Linked DNA regions of Homo sapiens: all the other regions are linked to region 2. The links are contacts of gene promoters, found by promoter capture Hi-C in blood cells and fetal thymus (Javierre and others, 2016). All regions are on one chromosome and are shown on one strand. The core of a region is centred on a gene start or on the middle of the fragment in contact, and the rest is flanking DNA. Distances in the headings are between cores, read along the strand shown. Region 1 has its middle 12 kb from the start of AGL. Region 2 holds the start of LRRC39 (leucine rich repeat containing 39). Region 3 overlaps CDC14A (cell division cycle 14A).

Evidence for each region. The method cuts DNA at HindIII sites, captures the fragments that hold promoters and counts their contacts. A CHiCAGO score of 5 or more calls a contact.
Region 1: a fragment that was not itself captured here is called in contact with the fragment with the promoter of LRRC39 in region 2 in 1 of 17 cell types (M1 macrophages); the score reaches 6.1 in M1 macrophages.
Region 3: a fragment that was not itself captured here is called in contact with the fragment with the promoter of LRRC39 in region 2 in 1 of 17 cell types (activated CD4 T cells); the score reaches 5.8 in activated CD4 T cells.

The regions. Positions count from the first base shown.
Region 1 is chr1:99,837,469-99,840,245 of GRCh38, reverse strand. No RefSeq gene overlaps it. Among named protein-coding and RNA genes, the nearest start is that of AGL, 12 kb to the left of the region's middle. The HindIII fragment of the contact is 241 bases long and covers 1,376-1,616 here.
Region 2 is chr1:100,176,969-100,179,668 of GRCh38, reverse strand. It overlaps LRRC39 (leucine rich repeat containing 39), which reads left to right and starts at 1,413. Exons shown (of 10, transcript NM_144620.4): 1 at 1,413-1,534. The HindIII fragment of the contact is 12,638 bases long and covers 1-2,700 here.
Region 3 is chr1:100,461,755-100,464,454 of GRCh38, reverse strand. It overlaps CDC14A (cell division cycle 14A), which reads right to left. Exons shown (of 16, transcript NM_003672.4): 9 at 1,574-1,804. Among named protein-coding and RNA genes, the nearest start is that of GPR88, 75 kb to the left of the region's middle. RefSeq lists enhancers at 318-407, 1,686-2,307. The HindIII fragment of the contact is 1,174 bases long and covers 734-1,907 here.

The sequences.
Region 1 (2,777 bases), core at 247-2,746, 340 kb after region 2:
CATAATGTGTTCAACAGTGGCTGTAACATTTTATCTTCCCATCAACAGTGCACAAAGATTTCAGTTTCTCCACATCCTTACCAACACTTATTTTCTATTTTTTGTTTTTTTTATAGTAGCCATCCTGGTAGATGTGAGATGGTATCTCAATGTGTTTTTGATTTTCATTTCCCTAATGGGTAGTGATGTTGAACATTTTTTTATGTGCTTACTGGCCATTTGTAAATCTTTTGGAGACATGTCTATTTAAGTCCTCTGCCTACTTTTGAATTTTTGTTGTTGTTGTTGAGTTTTAGATTAGTTCATTACATATTCTAGATATTAATCCCTTATCAGATGTATGATTTTAAAATATTTTCCCCCATTCTGTAGGCTGTCTTTTCATGCTATTGATAGTGTCCTTTGAAGCACAAAAGTTTTACATTTTAATGAAATCCAATTAATCTATTTGCTTTTTGCCTGTGTCTTTGGTGTCATATTCATTGCCAAATTCAATATCATGAAGTTTTGCCCTATATTTTCTTCTAAGAATTATATAGTTTTAGCTCTTTTGTTAGGTCTATGATTCATTTTGAATTAATTTTTGTATATGGGGTTAGGTTAACAGTCCATTTTCATTATTTTGCATGTGGCTATTCAGTTTTCCCAGCACTATTTGTTGAAAAGACTGTCCTTTCCCCACTGAATGGTCTTAGTACTGTTGTTGGAAAACATTTGACTATATATACTGGGGTTTATTTCTGGGCTCTCTATTCTATTTCATTTGTCTATCTATATATCTGTCTTTATGCCAGTACCACACTGTTTCAATTACCAAAGTTTTGTAGTAAGTTTTAAAATCAGGAAATGTGAGTCCTCCAATGTTGTTCTTCTTTTTCAAGATTGTTTTAGCTGTTCAGGGTCCCTTAAGATTCCACATGAATATTAAAACTAATTTTTCTATTTCTGTAAAAAAAAAGTCAATCTGTAGATCACTTTGGGTAGTACTGACATTTTGACAATATTAATCTTCTAATCCATGAACCATGGGATGGTTTTCCATTTATTTATGTCTTTCTTAATTTCTTTTAGCAATGTTTTATAGTTTTCAGTGTACAGGTCTCCTTTTGGTTTGTGAATTCCTAAGTTTTTAAATGCTATTTTAAATAGAATTGTTTTCTTAATTTCCTTTCAGATTACTCATTGTTAGTGTATCAAAATGCAATTGATTTCTGTGCATTGACTTTGTATCCTGCTGCTTTGCTGAATTCATTTATTCTAACTGTGTGTGTGTGTGTGTGTGTGTGTGTGTGTGTGTGTGGTATCTTAGTTTCCTACATATCACATCTGTGAACAGAGATAATTTTACTTGTTCCTTTTCAATTTGGATGAAGCTTTCATTTATTTGTCTTGATCAATTGTTCTGTCTAGGACTTTCAATATGTTGAATAGAAGTGGTGGAAGTGGTTATCCTTGCTTTGTTCCTGACCTTAGAAGAAAAGTTTTCAGTCTTTCACTGTTGAGTATGATGTTTGCTGTAGATTTTTTTACATATGGCTTTTATTAGGTTGAGGTAGTTTTCTTCTAGTTTGCTGAGTGTTTGTATCATGAAATGATGTTGAATTTTGTCAAAAGCTTTTTCTGCATCAATTGAGATGATTCTTTATTTTTTATGTTTAATTTTTTTTTTTTTTTTTTGAGACAGAGTTCTCACTCTGTTGCCCAGGCTGGAGTGCAGTGGCGTGATCTTGGCTCACTGCGACCTCTGCCTCCCGGGTTCAAGTGATTCTCCTGCCTCAGCCTCCTAAGTAGCTGGGACTACAGGTGTGTGCCACCACACCTGGCTAATTTTTGTATTTTTAGTAGAGACAGGGTTTCACCATGTTGGCCAGGTTGGTCTTGAACTCCTGACCTCAAATGATCCGCCTGCCTCGGCCTCCCAAAGTGCTGGGAATACAGGTGTGAGCTACAGTGCCTGGCCTCTTTATTTTTTAAAGAATACATATTTTCTTTTCCTTTTTGAAGTATCACAGGAAAGGGCTTGATTTTGCTATATCTTATAGCAGCATGGTAAATTTATGGTTAGCATAGTGCTAACCATGATGCATTTACTGTCTTTTCAAAAGCTTTAACTTTGGTTAGTTTTTTTTTTTTCCTCAGTTTTGAATAGGAATTGATTTGACAGCTGATTTTGTGTGTCCTTTGCCCAGCTCAGAAGGGTGGAAAACAAACCTGTCAAAACAAAGCTCTCAGAGTGGCAAAATTCCTAAGAATGCATCAGGTATCCTGACCTAACAATTAAATGTCTGTCCTACTAGAGGGTGAGCTTATTGAGAGGAGAAAATATCTTTTCTCCGGAATCCCCAGCACCTAAAACATTGCCTGTTGTATAGAAAACACTCAATAACATCTTGAGAAGGAATCCAAGAACAGTGTGTCTCTTGCCCTTTCTTCCCTGTCCTTTCCCCAAGAGAGAATACATCAAAATCAGTAACTTCCATATAGTTAATTTACTGTGAAGTATAAATATGAAAACATTCAAGTTCTACAAATAGTGCAAAAGTGAGCAGTTATGACATTTGACAAACTATTGTTGAATTGAAAGGTTTAGAGTTTGGTATTAAGAAAGGACTGTACTCTCTCATGTACTCCATGTCATAATTGATTGCTTTCTTTTTCCAAAGCTATATAGACTCATGTATTATCCACTTCTTCTTCTTTTTTTTTTTTTTGAGACGGAGTTTCGCTCTTGTTGCCCAGGCTGGAGTGCAATGGCGCGATCTTGGCTCACCGCAACT
Region 2 (2,700 bases), core at 164-2,663:
ACCTCCCTGGCTCAAGGTATCCTCCCACCTCAGTCTCCCAAGTAGCTGAGACTACATATACACACCACTACACCTGGCTAGTTTTATTTTATTTTATTTATTTTTATTTTTATGGAGACAGGGCCACCATGCCTGGCTACTTTAATTTTTTTTTTTTTTTTTTTTTTTTGGTAGATACAGGGTCTCACTCTGTTGCTCAGGCTGGTCTCCAGCTCCTGGGCTCAAGTGATCCTACCATCTTGGCCTCTCAAAGTGCTGGGATTACAGGTGTGAGATCTTGATTTTTACTTATGAACACATGCAAGCACTCTGTATGTGTTGGGTGGTGTACACTCTCGGGACAGGGAAGTTAGAGTTTCAATTGTGGCCATGGCTTCTTTACTCTTTCTGTGATCTTGAGCAGTCCCACAACTCTTAGAACTTAATTCATTATAGAAGTGTTGGAGAATTTCTGTGAGATAATCAGGCATAAATTTTTAAAGCATTAATATTGCTGAGATGTCCAAATGACTACATAAATTATGATCCACCTACACGCTAAACTGCTATGTAGCCATTAAAAAGAATGACGCTGCTCTAAATATACTAATATGAAACAGTTTCCAAGATATCCTGAGTGAAGAAAAGACAGTATAGAACAATGTATATAGTATGCTACCATTTTTGTATGTGTGCATGCCTTCACATATGTGTGCTTTTAAGGGATATAGGCATATTTAAGCTCGTAAATTCATAGACCATCTTTGTAAAGGTACACAAAGAACTGGCAATAGTGGTTGCCTTCAGAGAAGAGAACTTGAAGAGAACCTCCCTACTGGAGGCAGGGATGGTGGAAGGGGTGGGGGATGGAGAGAGTGGAGATTGAGCTTTTGAATTCTGTTCCATGTGCATATATTATAAATTCAAAAAAAGATATAGTTTATTTTTTAAGAACCTGGAATTAAGTCCTATCTATGAAAGCTGAAGAGATCAAAGTGAGAGGTAATTTAATTTGAAGCCCAGGTACAGCAGAAGTTTGGGGCTTCTGTGTTACTCATGCTTATCCACACCTTTATTTTTTCTTTTTCTAAAGCATCTGGGTCTTTAGTTCAAATATTTGCAGATCCATGGTTTACTGGGTAGAATTTTTGTTGTGGCATACATCAACATATTCCAAGTTTCTCTGCTTGGATGGAATAGATGCATGAAATTCTGTGAAATGATTAAGCTGTGAAAAGTAGAAGGACTTTGAATAGGCATTATTTTTCAAGATCTTAGAAATAGTTATGCCTGATAGTTTTATAATGTCTGTAGCGTATTTTGCAGTCCACAGAACGCACTCACATACATTATCAGCTGATCCGTCGCAAAGAAGCCTCATGTGATTCTTTCTATTCTCAGCTTTGTCCATGAACTAAAATTAGAACTAGGCTGACATTACATTTCACTTGGTTACAGCTGACTGGGGATTTTAATCATTTGGAGCCACACTGAAAAAAAAATTTCCCCCTGCAATCTACTCTTAACTGATAGTCGCTAACTTTGGTTATGTGTGGTAAGTATTTGACAATGGTAAGTATTTTTCAAAAACATTTTTCCTTTCTTCTTCACATGTAAATAGATTGCTGCTGATACCTATACTGTGTCTGTATTGGTTGGAATGTCCAAACAAACTGGAATAGAATTTAAAAGTTTTTTTGCGGGGTGTTCATGGTCACTCATATAATTGTGCTCCTCTGGAAGATAGATTTCCCCAGAAGTAAGAAACAATTCTTCTGCAATTCTTTTCTATGCTTACCTCACTTGTCACATTATGTGCTTTTTTTCTATTATGGTACTAATCAGAGTAGAGAGCAGTCCTGTGCTGGAGGAAGAAATATATCATTATTGACTTGTGTTTCCCTAGGGGAAGTTGGTTGTTATAGGAAAACTGATGGATGAGCAACATTTAATGGCAAATGAGGAAATGAATTAGCAAATGGATGAATTGTTTTACATGTCTTCTAAAATACATGTATACATGTAGATACTTGGGAATTCAAAAATATTTTTATTCGAGTATTTAGCAAAAACTTCAAACTTTCTTAAATTAGAGACAATAAATTGTAAATTGGTTGCAATATGCTCAGGAAGTTGGATTACCAGTGTATGTATCCCAAGGTTTCTTCACAGCAAAGAGATCTCGCATTCTGTTCCTGAGTAAATTCGGCATGCCTTGCTTAGAGATTCTCTCAACAATTTCCTGCCTATGCCAATTATTTATCAATCTTGAAATTTTAAACTTTTTTCTGTAATATAGTTCTCCTCTTTCTTTGACTGTCTCACACACATATATACTGCATAATATTAGTTTAAAAAATCAATAATTTAGAAGAGGTTAATAATGAAAAGCAATATTATCTATCCGATTCCTCTCTATCACCAGTCCTGCTCCCTAGAAGTAATCATTTTAACCATTTTGGAATTTAGTTTTCAGTGGTTATCTCCATATTTCTCTCTTTTTTTTCTTTTTCAAAGACAATTGCATGCTATTTTTAATCAACTTTAAACATCTGTGGAGCTTCATTATGAGAGGTGGGGATTAAGTTCCCTTACACTGCCATAGAGTTATATCCCTATTTTTAGCTTCTCTCTTGATTACCTTAATAACTTTAAGCAAATACTTTAATCTTTATTTCTTGTTCCATAAGGTACAGACAGTATCTGTTGATTCCCCACTTC
Region 3 (2,700 bases), core at 71-2,570, 280 kb before region 2:
CAAAATGCAATGGAAAAGCAAACAGGGTGCAAATGAATCACATGGGGACAAGCCAACACACTGGCACCCCACTGTGGCCTGAAAGCAGCACCCACAAATGAGCCAGCAAGTGACACCTTCCTAACAGACTCCACGCCAGAGACAAGATATCCCACAAAGCCAGGGCCCATCCTGCTAGCTAATGGGGAGGGTGGGGAGGGAGAGCTCTGCCCACCCAGGAGGAGGGAGCCTGGCATGGGGAGCCCTGCTCCAAACCCAGGCCACGTGCTGCTCATTTCCATCTCTCTGGGTCTCTGGGAAACCGCAGCTTCCCATTTTTGCTCACATGTTCACAAAGTACCTCCACCTACTCAAATCTTAAACATAGAAACAAGGGCCTACAAAACGGCATTTTAATTTCTGTCAGAACCAAAGCCATACTCGTCTGAATAAGTCAGTTACAGCAGCACTAGGCACATGAAAAGAACAGCACCCTCCCCAACACCTACTAGATGATTAGCATAAAATGAGAGGGAAACCGGGTCTAGACCCAAAACCATAAGCACAGCACCACCCAGCGACACTAGGAGGAGCTGCACATGAGGAACTCGAGGCTCCAGCCCAGGGCGGCCCTAGTGATTTCTCCTCGCTGAAATCAAAGACCCAGTAAAATATCTGGAATATTTCCAGTATTATCCATACCGAAAGATCTGGAATGGAGTGGATTTTAAGCCTCCTCGAAGTCAAACAAGCTTAGAGCAAATGGCATGTCATATTTTCTGAGTAGCTGACATGGGGTTGCCAGATAAAATACAGAATGCATGTTCCCTGCAATATTTGGGACATATTTATACTTTTTGTTTTAAAAGTATTCATTGTTTATCTAACTTTCAAATTTAATTAGGCAGCCTGTATTTTTATTTGCTAAATCTGGCAATCCTAAACCTTCTATAGTCTGAACAATTCCTGCCCCAAAGTATCCACCCCCAGAGATCAGAGATTTTTGCAAAACAAACTCTTTAAGTTTATTCCATGAGGCAGCATCACATCAGCAGCATTGTAAGCTAGCGGATTGCCCCTAGCAACAGGCATGGAAGACGCTCTGCTCCATGAAGCCAAAGACTAGGAGGGGAGGGAAAAGCAGAGACTGGAATGGGGGTCCAGATAACTGGGTCATAAAACAGAACCACGACAGTGCAAGAGGATGGAGAAGAGATGGGCAATTCTGAAAAAAAACAAAGGAGAGAGGAAAACTAACAACCCTTGTCTCTTGAGAATTTTACCTGTTTAAAGGTGTTCCTGCAGCCTAAAGACACTGCTACTGTGTTTCCCCTCATTGTGGCACGTGGGCCTGGAAAGGTAAGGTCTGAAAAACTGGCATATCAAGAAAGCCACACCACCACCAATTGTCCACACCCAAGCAATCGTTTCTTTAAGAAGGGGTTATTAAAATGAGTTTGTGTCCCAGTTGTCTGAAATTTAAAACCTCATTGTTTTTCTAAGACACTAAACAGGTTTTGTTTTATGTTATTTGCTCTTCCTTGGCCCGCCCCTTCGATAAGCACAGCCACCACCACCGAGGCCTTGCACACACCTTTGCAGTGAACGGCGATGGCCCCTTCGGTGTTCTCACAGATGTTCAGGAACCTTCGCACGATGTTGTCACTGGGTGTGCTGCCATCTATGAAGAAGAGGTCATAGTGCTCGAAGCCAGCGTCTGTGAAGCGCTTTGCCTCATAAATCTTTTTGTTTAGCCTCACAACTGCAGTCACATTATGCTTTTTGAAATAAGGAAAGTAGGCTTCAGGGGCGTGAAGAGGATAACCTAAAGGAACAAAGGAGCAGTAAGCAAAAGGCATGCATTTCATCTTCCACAACCCAGAAATACAAAACTCTCAACAATGAAGTGTATAAATCTCAACAAAGCTTGGGAGGAAAGTGTGTTGTGTGAGAGAAGAGGTCACAGCAAGCTCCTACAAGCATCAATCTGCATAACTGTAAGCACCACAGGAGGTTAAAAAGAAAACTTCTGTAAGTACTGAAAATACATCATTAAAGTTCAAAATCTCAACCTCTAGATTCGAATCCTGGGAGCATACTCTTCCCACTCCCAAGACAAAAGCATTCTTGAAGTAATCAAATGTGCATAACAGACCTAGAATGGTGACTTTATTCTCTCTTGAGCTTTATTCTCTACTTGACAAACAGTTTTCAACTACAGCTGAAGCTTTTTTGCCATATGTATAGTTTTAATTTGTAGTACAATGCTCCCCAGAAGCAATTATTATTAAGCACCTACTATGTACAAGTCACAATTGCGTATCATTTCAAATTCTCAAAACCATCTCTTAAGTATGGCTAATTCCATTTAACAGATTAAGAAACTAAAAGAGGGGGTGTTGGGAGGATATTGGTCAAAGAAAACAAAATTTCAGTTAGAAAGGAGTATGTCCCAGAGATCTATTGTACAACATAGTGACTATAATAACAATGTATTATATACTTTAAAGTCATTTAGAAAGTAAAATTTAAGTCTTCTCACCACAAAAAATGATAAATATGTGAATACTTAAGTAAGACTTGACTTAACCATTCTACGATGTATACATATTTCAAAAGTTGTTGTACACCATAAATATATAATTTTTATCAATTAAAATATAAATTTTTTTAGTTAAAAATAAACAATAACTTTTGTGGACACTTCCTTTTTTTGAGGGA